4 separate regions of the Homo sapiens genome follow, and all the other regions are linked to region 3. Evidence: promoter capture Hi-C in 16 types of primary human blood cells and fetal thymus (Javierre and others, 2016). All regions are on one chromosome and are shown on one strand. The core of a region is centred on a gene start or on the middle of the fragment in contact, and the rest is flanking DNA. Distances in the headings are between cores, read along the strand shown.

Region 1 (3,127 bases), core at 516-3,015, 290 kb before region 3:
ATCAGGGACAAAAACACCAGTTCCTGCACTGTGGGTTGCTGAGGACTGAGGGGGTTATCACTGGGTCACGGCTTGCATTTGAAAGGTCTCAACTGTATTATTACTGTTGTTATTTATAGCTGCATCCCACCCCCCATGCCTGGCACACGGCTGGCACTTCCCCAAATAACAAGAGGTAGGGAGCAGTCAGGGGGACCCCAGCCTCACCTTTCACAATGCTGGAGAAGGTGGCAGAGTGTCGGGACACAAAGACCTTGAGCTGTTCATCAAGGTTGCAGACGCCAGGATCGACATCCCAAGACCGGATGCCTGGTGGGAAGGAGGGATCAAGGCGGGAGTTCAGCCGGGCCCCCCAGCTCCCAGAATATTTCAATAATTAGCACCCCGTGGGTGGGGAGCGCCCCAGCCTCCTCCCTTCACTCACAGCTTGGAGACTCAGAAGTACCCAACACCTTCAGGTCTCGCTGCAGCTGAGCCAGGGGACCCAGAGCACACCTCATCATTTTACACACAAGATTCATCAGCAACAAAGCCTCCACCTCCTCCATCTCCACCTCCTCGCTGCTCCTATGCCCTGCCAGACCCGTTTCCACTCACCGCCCTTGCAACAGCTGTTTCCCCTGCCTGGAAGTCCATCCCCCTGCCGCCCCCACCTGTTCCTACTGGCCAGGGGGCCCTTCCCCCTCAGCACCTTCGGGTGCTAAGACTGACTGTCCTCTCAGTCCCTTGCAGCCTTCTCATCCTTCCTGACACCATGTGAGCTGGAAGCTTGTTCCATCTCCTCACTCGCTTTGGGTCCATCCCCAAACCAGACCTGTGTTGGCAGGGCTGAACCTGTCTATCATCCCGGCCATATCCCTGTGTCCACTGCCCAAAGGCCTGGCGCATAGCAGGTGCTCACTAAACACTCCTCAAGCACATGAACCGAGGTGCGTGTTCCTGTCCCATTTTACATGCAATGAAACGCCAGGTCCAGATGCTCCGAGGGATGGGGGATGAACACCCATCTCCACCCACGGGCGCATCACGCCCGCCAGTCCCACTGAGCCAAGTGGCTGCAGGTGAACCTGGCAGGTGCGCCTATGACTCACCTCCCTAGGTGCCAAATCCCCAGGGCAGGCCGCACCCGCCCACACCCCAATTAGCAGCTCCTTGTGAGGCAACAGAAAGCGGGCCCCGGGGCTCCAGGCCCAGCCTCCCCCATATCTGCTTCTCCCTCCGGGAGATCTCTATCTAAGCTGCTAAGACCTGGAGATCCAAAGCGACCCCAGGCCCTACCCCCGGGCAGGCCAGTCAGGCGGGAAGCGGAGCCGTGGTCCAACTGCAAGGGTCCCCAAGCCCAGGCCCGTGTCCCCTCCCCTATCTTCACCCGGAGTTGGGGCGGGGCAGCCCTGCCCAGCCCAGGCCCGGATGCCACTTTCTCCGCGGGCACCCACGGGCACCCCGCCTTTGCCCGCGTCGTGCGCCTAACGGTGAAGGGGACCCAGCCCCAGGCCCGCGACCCCCGCCCCGGAGCCCGGGTCCCGCCGCCGCCGCCGCCGCCGCCCCACCCCGCCGGCCCCGGGCCCAGACGCGCGAACGGGCCCGCCTCCCGGGCTCCCGCGGGCCCCCAGGCCAGCCCGACCTCTTTCGAGCTCCTCCAGGACGTAGGTGAGGAGCCCCGGGCTCCCGAACTCGCTGCCCACCACGAGGAGCAGTGAGCTCGGAGCCGCGGCAGCCCCAGATCCAGCCACCGCCGCCATCTTCGGGCCGCCCCGGCGTTCTCGGCGCCCGCCCCGCAGGCCCCGCCTCTTAAAGGGGCCGCACCGGAAGGGCTGAAGACCCCGCCCGGAACCACCGCATCCCCGCCCCTTTTTGTCGACCACTTACAGGCCCTTTGAGGTCGTGGAGAGCAGGGGATGCGGGCGTTAAAGGGGTTGGCCGACTCCTGGGTGTCCGCTTGGGAGCCGCCTCTCCCAAGTGACCATTCATTCATTTTTTTTTTCATTGAACAAGCTTTGATTGCGTGCCTGCTGCATGTAGGTCAGAACTCCTGCCCTCCAGGAACTCACATCACATGACAGTAGGCCGCATCAGAACCCGGTGCCTATGGATGCTCCCAGCTCTCTAGGTCAGGGCTTGAACAGAGAAAAGAAATCTATCTTGTAGGTAGGGCTTTAAGGGATGTGTAGGAGTTTGCCTTGTGGGTGGTGGGGCAAGAGCTGGTGAGGCAGAAGTTTACAGCAGGTGCAAAGTTTTAGAGGTAAGAAAGTACATGTGTGTTTGGGACACAACCGGAGCACTCTGGGCCTGCCTGGAACAGGGCAACACTTATTCTGCACCTCCTGTGCGCCAGGTATTTTATTGCATTAGCTCATTACATACAAGCACAAAGCGATGAGTTTTGTGCTTGTATGTAGGCACAGATGAGTAGGCACAGTTACTGTGGTCACTTTCAGAGGAAAGAAGAGGAAACTGAGATTTGGAGGGATGAAGTCACCAGGCCTGTAAGTGGTAGAGCAGGTTTGAACCCAAGTGGGTCTTACTCTAGATCCAGCCTGTGCAAGGGACTGCCTGCGTTGCGCACATGGGTACCTCTCTCTCCCCAGATAATCCTCTTTAGGCTTTTCTTTCCTTTCCTCCCCTCTCTTCTCCTCTCCTCCCCTCCCCTCCTCTCCTCTTCTCCCCTCCCCTCCCCTTCTCTCCCCTCTCCTCTCCTCTCCTCCCCTCCCCTCCCTTCCTCTCCCTCCCCTCCCCTCCCCTCCTCTCCCCTCTCCTCTCCTCTCCTTTCCTTTTCTTGAGATGGAGTCTCATTCTGCCGCCCAGGCTGGAGTGCAATGGCACAATCTCAGCTCACTGCAACCTCTGCCTCCCGGGTTCAAGCGATTCCCTTGCCTCAGCCTCCCAAGTAGCGGGATTATAGGTGTCCGCCACCATGCCCTGCTAATTTTTGTATTTTAGTAGAGATGAGGTTTCTTTTCTTTTCTTTTCTTTTCTTTTCTTTTCTTTTCTTTTCTTTTCTTTTCTTTTAGAGACAGAGTCTCGCTCTGTCGCCCAGGCTGAAGGGTAGTGGCGCGATCTCGGCTCACTGCAAGCTCCACCTCCCAGGTTCATGCCATTCTCCTGCCTCAGCCTCCCGAGTAGCTGG
Region 2 (2,964 bases), core at 9-2,508, 260 kb before region 3:
GAGTTTGGTTTTGAACAATGGCCTCACTCAACTCCATGCACATTCTGCATTTATGAAGCTCTTTCATGTGGGCTGGGGGCAGGAGACCCTGTGGGGCTCAGCCTTTCATGCTAGTTTAGGTGCCAGTGATACAGCGAGCAGGTTGCAGGGCAAGGGGCCCACATGGAGCTGCCCAGTTTGATATGTGGGGAGGGGGCCAGGCGCAGTGGCTCAGGTCTGAATCCCAGCACTTTGGGAGGCCGAGATGGGCGGATCCCCTGAGGTCAAGTGTTCAAGACCAGGCTGGCCAACATGGTGAAACCTCGTCTCTACTAAAAATAAAAAAAATAAAATAAAAAAAAAAAGCTGGGCATGGTGGCATGCGCCTGTAGTCCCAGCTACTCGGGGAGGCTGAGGCAGGAGAATCTCTTGATCCCAGGAGGCAGAGGTTGCAGTGAGCCAAGATTGCGTCACTGCATTCCAGCCTGGGCTGCAGAGGGAGACTCCATCTAAAAAAAAGAAAAGTGGGGAGGAGTGGCAGAGTTTCGTTCGGGTCAGGGCCCAATCAGAGGAAGGGATAGGGGCTGGGGGAGTCCAGAGAGGAGAAACAAAGGCTCAGCTTGGGGCAGTCAGGGAAGCCTTCCTGGAGGAGAGGATATTCAGACAAGACATTGATGGATGAAAAGGAGTTCAGAGTGTGGGCAAGGACCCATGGGCTGGATGGCTTAGAGACATAGAGAGAGACCTAGACAGGATGCAGTAGAGCTGCAAAAAGACTTTACAGAGAGAGGCTAAGAGACACATGACTGAGAGAGCAGTGGACAGAGTCAGAGGAACAGAGACCCAGGGAGAGAAAGAGACCAGGCAGTAGAGTTAGAGAGACAGAGACGTAGAGACAGAGGAAGAGAGATACTCAGAGAACAGGACCATCTGCCCGGTGCTGGTGCCGGGCGTACACACAAGAGCTTGCATTTGCCTGTACTTGCTTGAGTATTGCAGGGAGGCGTTTGCCCAGGTTACCAGGGCAGGAATGTCCATGCATGGGTGGCGGGGGCACGTGCACCATTTCAGTGCAGGTGAGGGTCTGCACAGGAGGAAACCTGCTTGGGGGCCGCCGTCGCCCCTTGTCCCCCTGCAACGAGGAGGTGTGGGGCGAGGCGCCCCTTCCCGGAGCCAGGCCCTTTAACGCCCCCCCAGCCCGCAGCGCCCCCGCCCCATCAGGCGTCCCTGGGCTCCGCCTGCCCGCCCCGCATCAGCGCCACGTCAGGCGCTGTCCGCGCCCCCGGTGCTGAACCAAGATGGCCGGTGGCGGCCGGGCCCCGGCGTGAGCCAAGCGCGGGCTGCAGCCGGGAGATGCCCCAGCCCAGCGGCCGCTGAGCCCGACCCGACAGAGCCGGCCCGGCCGCCTCCGGCCCACCTGCGAGCTCGGAGACATGTCTCTGCTTTGCGTTGGAGGTAGGAGGCGAGGCTGGGGGTCGGGGGACCCGTGTGGACGCGGGCTGGGGTCGGGGTCCGCGTGGATGCGGCTCCCAGGGGGTTCCTGGGGGGTGACCCGAGTCCAGGTGGCTGGACTTTTGAGAGGGGTAGCCCTTGTCGACGCAGCTGGGCCCCGGAGGGGGTGATCCGTGTAGACGCGGCAGGGCTCTCGGGGGTCCTGGTGGCCGCTGCTGGAGGGGTCGTGTGGACGCGGCTGAACGCGGAGGCCCGTGTGGACGTGGACGGGTATCCGGGGTTCTACCCGGAAACGATCTAGACTGGGGCGTCTGTGTAGACCAGGTTTTTAGAGGGTCAGTGAGGAAGAGTCTGGGCTCGGTAGTTTGATTGAAGCCTGCAGGGGTGCTTGGAAGGGGTCTGGTGTTGTGGGCTGGGTTACGGGTCCTCATGGACGCGGACCCGGCTGGAAATTCGAAGGAGAGTGCGGTGGGAGGGTTCTCCAAGCCGTGGGGATGTAAGATATAGGTAGAGGGGCTTGGCCATCAGGGCATCCACGAGTTCTAGGACTCTCCCAGCCCTAGGTGTAAAGAGGACTGGAGTGGGGGGAGTGTGGAGACAGGAGACCCCTCCCAGCGTCCAGAGAGGGCTGTGACTGGAGGTCTGGGGGCGCTTTTCCAGTTAACTCTTTGGCCTCCCGAGTGAGGGGGTTGGAGGAATGTCCAGAAGGTCTTCCCGCTCCCTGCCCCCTCCGGTTCTCCCAAACACGTTTCAGGGCCTTCTCGGCAGGGAGCCTACTTCTTGGAAGAGCAATGTCTCCTGGTCCCCCTCCTGGCCCATCCTCACCTCACCCACTTTGCACTGGAGAGAGGGAGGGAGGGAGACGTGAGGTGGGGGGGGAGCTATTTTGGGGCCAGAACGCCATCTGCACAGAGGCCCACGCCCAGGCCCACGCTCTGCGTTGGGGTTGGAGGAGGGAGGGAGACGTGGGAGGGGCATGACCCCCCACCCCACACCTTTATGGCTCTGGGGTCGTGGGGAAGCCAGCCCAACCGAACCCAGGCGTTCTGGGCACTCCCGTTTGAGAAATCAAACTCTGGGAGACCTTGGGCGGCAGGGGTGGATGTGGACCGCCGTTCCACGCCTACAGAGCTCTGAACCCCTGGTTCTTAAGGACTGGGGTCCCCCCGTCACTCCCACCCATTTCAAGAAGGCTGGGGTGGGGGAAGGGGTGTGTCTGCCAAGCCTGAGACTGCAGGCTTCGGGAGACCTCGGGCGACAGGAAGCGTGCGTGTGCTGAACTCCTGCTGCCTGGACACAGGGTGGGCAGGCCGGGGAGCCGGGAACCGCCCCCGCCGCCCCTCCTCCTCCCTCCCCTCCCCCTCGGCCGATTCATTCACAAACCCTGCCCCGCCCGCCCGCTCCCCGCCGCGGCAGCTTCCGAGTGCAAATCCGGCCGGGCTGGGCCGGCGTGGACGCGGGTGTTCTTAAAGGGACAGGGGCCTACTTTCTCTAAGCTCGTTTCTGCTGGACGGGGCTGGGGGTGGTGGAAGA
Region 3 (2,946 bases), core at 229-2,728:
CACCATGTTGGCCAGGCTGGTCTTGAACTCCTGACCTCGTGATCCGCCCACCTTGGCCTCTCAAAGTGCTGGGATTACGGGCGTGAGCCACCATGCCCGATCATGTGTGTTTTTTTCGTAGAGATGGTGTTTCACTGCTGCCCAGGCTGCCCTTAAACTCCTGAGCTCAACAGATCCTCCCAGCTTGGCCTCCCAAAGTGCTGGGATTACAGGTGTGAGCCACCGCTGCACCCAGTCCCAAATTTTTTTTTTCTTTTTTTTTGAGACAGGGTCTTGCTCTGTCACCCAGCCAGGAGTGCAGTTATGCAATCATAGCTCACTGCAGCCTTCACCTCCCAGACTCAGGCGATCCTCCCACCTCAGCCTCTCGAGTAGCAGGGACTACACAGGCAGGTATCACTATGCCCGGCTAATTTTTAATTTGTACAGACAGGGCCTTGCTGTGTTGCCCAGGCTGGTCTCAAACTCCCGGGGGCTCAAGTGATCCTCTCGCCTCAGCCTCCGATAGTGCTGGCATTACAGGCGTGAGCCACCATGGCTGGCCAACTTTAATTATTTAAAAGCTTGGATGTTTCTTTAGACAACACCGTCCTCACTGTGAGAAAATGACCCTCCCATTAGGCCAGTTTCTGTACCACTACAACTAACAAAGTCTATTGCCGCTAAGAAATAAGCCTTAGCTTTGCTATTTATTTATTCATTTACTTAGAGATAGGGTTTTGCTCTGCACCCAGGCTGTTTTTTTTTTTTTTTTTTTGCAGACAGAGTTTCGCTCTTGTTGCCAAGGCTGGAGTGCAATGGTGCGATCTTGGCTCACCACAACCTCTGCCTCCTGGGTTCAAGCGATTCTCCTGCCTCAGCCTCCTGAATAGCTGGGATTACAGGCATGCGCCACCACGCCCCGCTAATTTTGCATTTTTAGTAGAGACGGGGGTTTCTCCATGTTGGTCAGGCTGGTCTTGAACTCCCGACCTCAGGTGATCCGTCCGCCTCGGCCTCCCAAAGTGCTGGGATTACAGGCGTGAGACACCGTGCCCTGCCTTACTTATTTATTTATTTAGAGACAGGGTCTCACTCTGTCACACAGGCTGGAGTGCAGTGGCGCAATCATAGCAAACTGCAGCCTCGACCTCCTGGCCTCAAGCGATCCTCGTGCCTCAGCCCCCAAAAGTGCTGGGATTACAGATGTGAGACTCCAAGTATGACAGCCTTAGTTCTTCTTTTTCTTTTTGAGATGGAGTTTCACTCTTGTTGCCAAAGCTGGAGTGCAATGGTGCAATCTTGGCTCACTGCAACCTTGACCTCCCGGGTTCAAGCGATTCTCCTGCCTCAGCCTCCCAAGCAGCTAGGATTACAGGCGTGTGCCACCACACGCAGCTAATTTTTATATTTTTAGTAGAAACAGGGTTTCACTACGTTGGCCAGGCTGGTCTCGAACTCCTGACCTCAGGTGATCTGCCTGCCTCGGCCTCCCAAAGTGCTGGGATTACAGGTATCAGCCATCATGCCTGGCCAGCTTTTCTAAACCACAGAGATCTGGGGATGTTTCCAACTGCAGCAGAATGTGGGCCACCACAAGACTACAACAGCCCAGAGGAGAAACAGCAGCATAGCAGCCATCGTACACGTCCATGGGCATGCACTTATGGGAGAAGGAAGGTGTGAGTTTAGGGTGGTGAATTTCTTCTCTTTTTTTTTTTTTTTTTTTTGAAATGGAGTTTCACTCTTGTTGCACAGCCTGGAGTGCAGTGGCACAATCTCAGCTCACTGCAACCTCCACCCACCAGGGTTCAAGCGATTCTGCTGCCTCAGTGTCCCAAGTAGCTGGGATAACAGGCACCTGCCACCAAGCCTGGCTAATTCTGTATTTTTGGTAGAGATGGGGTTTCACTATGTTGGCCAGGCTGGTCTCGAACTCCTGACCTCAGGTGATCCACCCACCTCGGCCTCCCAAAGTGCTGGGATTACAAGCATGAGCCACTGTGCCTGGCCATGTTCTTGTGGTTTTTGTTGGTGATTTTGCCATTGAAATTCCCCCAGACACCGAAATGCTGTCCAGGCTTCCTAAGTACCAAAAGGCTGCAATGGCTGGGCTCGGCGGCTCATGCCTGTAATCCCAGCACATTGGGAGCCGAGGCAGGAGGACTGCCCAAGGCCAGGAGTTCAAGACCAGCCTGGGCAATATAGTGAGACCCCCATCAGTACAAAAAAAATTTTAAATTAGCCCAGTGTAGCCTGTAGTCCCAGCTACTCAGGAGGCTGAGATTGGAGGATCACCTGAGCCCGGGAGGTCAAGGCTGCAGTGAGCTATGATCATGCCAAAAATAAAATACTTAAAAAAAAAAAAGTCTGTGATGCACCTCATGGAGAAAATCCATTATAGAGAAGCTTTATGCAGACGTGAGTTTCGGTGCTGTTGGCTGTGAGTTCAATGTAAATGAATCCACCATAGATATTAAATAAGGTGTTTTTAAACAAATGTACATAAAACAAGGTTGTATGAATTGGTGGATGAAAATGGTGTGGCCTGGGCCGGGCGCAGTGGCTCACACCTGTAATCCTAGCACTTTGGGAGGCCAAGGCGGGGGATCACTTGAGGTCAGGACTTTGAGACCAGCCTGGCCAACAAGGTGAAACGCTGTCTCTACTAAAAATACAAAATACAAATTAGCTGGTTATGGTGGCCCAAGCCTGTAGTCCCAGCTACTCAGCAGCAAGGGGTGCCGGCTGAGGCAGGAGAATCACTTGAATCTGGGAGGCAGAGGTTGCAGTGAGTCGAGATCATGCCACTTCACCCAGCCTGGGTGACAGCATGAGGCGCTGTCTCAAAAAAAAAAAGAAAGAAAAAAAAAAAAGGCCTGGGCGCTGTGGCTTACACCTGTAATCCCAGCACTTTGGGAGGCCGAGGAGGGTGGAGCACAAGCTCAGGAGATCGAGACCATCCTG
Region 4 (2,736 bases), core at 237-2,736, 390 kb before region 3:
TCTACAATTAAAAAATTAAAAATGGCCGGGCGCGTTGGTGCACGCCTGTAATCCCAGCACTTTGGGAGGCCGAGGCGGGTGGATCACTTGAGGTCAGGAGTTTGAGATCAGCCTGGCCAACATGGTGAAACCCCGTCTCTGCTAAAAAATACAAAAATTAGCCAGGCTTGGTGGTGGGCACCTGTAATCCCAGCTACTCAGGAGGCTGAGGCAGGAGAATCGCTTGAACCCAGGAAGCAAAGGTTGCAGTGAGTCGAGATCGCACCACTGTACTCCAGCCTGGGTGACAGAGTAAGACTCTGTCTAAAAAGATAAAAATAAAAATTAAAAAATTAAAAATTAGCTGGGCATTGTATTGCAGGCCTGTAGTCCCAGCTACTCAGGAGGCAGAGGCTGAAGGATCGCTTGAGCCCAGGGGAATGAGGTTACAGTGAGCTATGATCCTGCCATTACAGGCCAACCCAGAGAGATCCTATGTCAAAAATGAATAAATACCCTGGTGTGGTCGCTCTCGCCTGTGATCCCAGGACTTTGGGAGGCTGAGGCGGGAAGATGACTTGAGTCCAGGAGTTTGAGACCAGCCTGGGCAACATGGCAAAACCCCATCTCTACAAAAAAAATACAAAAAATTAGCCGGGTGTGGTGGCGTGGGCCTGTAGTCCCAGCTACTCAGGAGGCTGAGGTGGGAGAATTGCTTGAGTCAGGGATAGGGAGGTGGCAGTGAGCCCATATCGTGCCACTGCACTCCAGCCAGGGTAACAGAGCAAGAACTCATCTCAAAAATAAAAAATAAAAATAGGTGGCTGGGCGTGGTGGCTTACACCTGTAATCCCAGCTACTTGGGAGGCTGAGGTGGGAGAATCACTTGAACCCAGGAGGTGGAGGTTGCAGTGAGCCGAGATCGCATCACTGCACTCCAGCCTGGAAGACAGAGCAAGACTTTGTCTCAATAATAATAATAAAAATAATAATAGTCCAGGCACAGCTCATGCCTGTAATCCCAGCATTTTGGGAGGCCGAGGCAGATGGATCGCTTGAGGTCAGGAGTTGGAGACCAGCCTGGCCAACATGGCGAACCCCAGTCTCTACTAAAAATAAAAAATAAAAAAAAAAAAATTAGCCAGGCATAGTGGTGCGCACCTGTAATCCCAGCTACTCAGGAGGCTGAGGCAGGAGAATCGCTTGAACCCGGGTGTCAGAAGTTGCAGTGAGCCGAGATCAAGTCACTGCACTCCAACCTGGGTGACAGAGTGAGACTCCATCTCAAAAAAAAAGAAGAAAAAAATAAAAAAGAAAGACTCGTTGCCCAGTGCTCCCTCTGGGAGAAGTACATCCAAGGCCCTGGCCCTGGGAGAAAGGCTCTGGCACTAACCCCACCCTTGACCTTTTTCCTGGGCGGTCCTGAAGAATGTTCTGTCCCTTCTCCAAGGCCCCCAGCTGGGACGGCCCAGGCGCCTATAAAGGGGGTCCCCGCTTGGCCCCGGCGCCACCCACCACCATGGACCCCCGTCTGCCCGCCTGGGCGCTGGTGCTGCTGGGCCCTGCCCTGGTGTTCGCGTTGGGCCCCGCGCCCACCCCAGAGATGCGTGAGAAGTTGTGCGGCCACCACTTCGTACGCGCGCTAGTGCGCGTGTGCGGGGGCCCCCGCTGGTCCACCGAAGCCAGGAGGCCTGCGACCGGAGGCGACCGTGAGTGGGGACGGGCAGGGACAGCGCTCTGGGAAGCCGAGGTGGGGCAGGTGCACGTAGGCGCAGATGCACACGTGCAGGGAGGTGGGCAGGTTTGCATGCATGTGCCCAGGGCTCACCTGCCGGCTGCGTGCACAGATCGTGGGTCCGCACTGGAGTGTGTGTGAACGCGCGTGTGAAAGTCCCCAGAGCCGTTAGCCAGGCGTGGTGGCTCACGCCTGCAATCCCAGCACTTTGGGAGGCTGAGGCGGGTGGATCCCCAGAGGTCAGGAGTTCGAGACCAGCCTGGCCAAAATGGTGAAACCCCATCTCTACTAAAAATAATTTTTAAAAAAATTAGCCGGGGATAATGATGCACATCTGTAATCCCAGCTACTTGGGAGGCCAAGGCAGGAGAATCGCTTGAACCCGGAAGGCAGAGGTTGCAGTGGGCCGATATCATGCCATTGCACTCCAGCCTGGGCGACAGAGTGAAACTCCGTCTCAAAAAAAAAAAAAAAAGAAAGTCCTCAGAGCATGAGTCCCCCTGAGGGGCCAGAAACAGAGTGAGGCAGGAGAGGTAGGCTCTTGCAAGTACATGGTGAGATCCTGTCTTAAAATTTCAATATTTTGATCTTCATGAATTTTTGCCTTAATTTTGCTTTGTTTGTTTGTTTTTTGAGACAGGGTCTCACTCTGACGCCCAGGCTGGAGTGCAGTGGTGAGATCTCGGCTCACTGCAGGCTCAACCTCCTGGGCTCAAACCATCCTCCTGCCTCAGCCTCTGGAGTGGCTGGGATACAGGTGCTGCCACCACACCCAGCTAATTTTTTTTTCTTTTTCGTAGAGAGGGAGTCTCACTCTGTTTCCCAGGCTGGTCTCAAACTCCTGAGCTCAAGTAATCCTCCCACCTTGACCTTCCAAAGTGTTGGGATTAGCGATGTGAGTCACTGTGTCCAGCTTTAAAAGTATTTAAAAGTATTGCTTTTGAAAAGTATTGCTTTTCACAATTATGTTACTTTATTTTATTATTTTATTTTTATTTATTTATTTTGAGACATAGCCTCGC

Evidence for each region. The method cuts DNA at HindIII sites, captures the fragments that hold promoters and counts their contacts. A CHiCAGO score of 5 or more calls a contact.
Region 1: a contact is called between the fragment with the promoter of MAP1S here and a fragment that was not itself captured in region 3, in 3 of 17 cell types (megakaryocytes, endothelial precursors and M1 macrophages). The highest score is 5.7, in megakaryocytes.
Region 2: the fragment with the promoter of UNC13A here is called in contact with a fragment that was not itself captured in region 3 in 2 of 17 cell types (M2 macrophages and M1 macrophages); the score reaches 6.9 in M2 macrophages.
Region 4: a contact is called between the fragment with the promoter of INSL3 here and a fragment that was not itself captured in region 3, in 4 of 17 cell types (M1 macrophages, M2 macrophages, M0 macrophages and 1 more). The highest score is 6.6, in M1 macrophages.

Annotation. Positions count from the first base shown.
Region 1 is chr19:17,718,118-17,721,244 of GRCh38, reverse strand. MAP1S (microtubule associated protein 1S) reads right to left here and starts at 1,765. Exons shown (of 7, transcript NM_018174.6): 1 at 1,625-1,765; 2 at 208-309. The coding sequence starts at 1,742. RefSeq lists enhancers at 574-723, 1,114-1,183 and a silencer at 1,534-1,583. The HindIII fragment of the contact is 1,227 bases long and covers 771-1,997 here.
Region 2 is chr19:17,686,648-17,689,611 of GRCh38, reverse strand. It overlaps UNC13A (unc-13 homolog A), which reads left to right and starts at 1,258. Exons shown (of 44, transcript NM_001080421.3): 1 at 1,258-1,434. The coding sequence starts at 1,413. RefSeq lists a silencer at 1,740-1,922 and enhancers at 1,156-2,116, 2,117-2,964. The HindIII fragment of the contact is 13,980 bases long and covers 1-2,964 here.
Region 3 is chr19:17,426,272-17,429,217 of GRCh38, reverse strand. No RefSeq gene overlaps it. Among named protein-coding and RNA genes, the nearest start is that of MVB12A, 7.7 kb to the right of the region's middle. The HindIII fragment of the contact is 1,825 bases long and covers 566-2,390 here.
Region 4 is chr19:17,820,269-17,823,004 of GRCh38, reverse strand. It overlaps INSL3 (insulin like 3), which reads left to right and starts at 1,486. Exons shown (of 2, transcript NM_005543.4): 1 at 1,486-1,688. The coding sequence starts at 1,499. The HindIII fragment of the contact is 12,026 bases long and covers 1-2,736 here.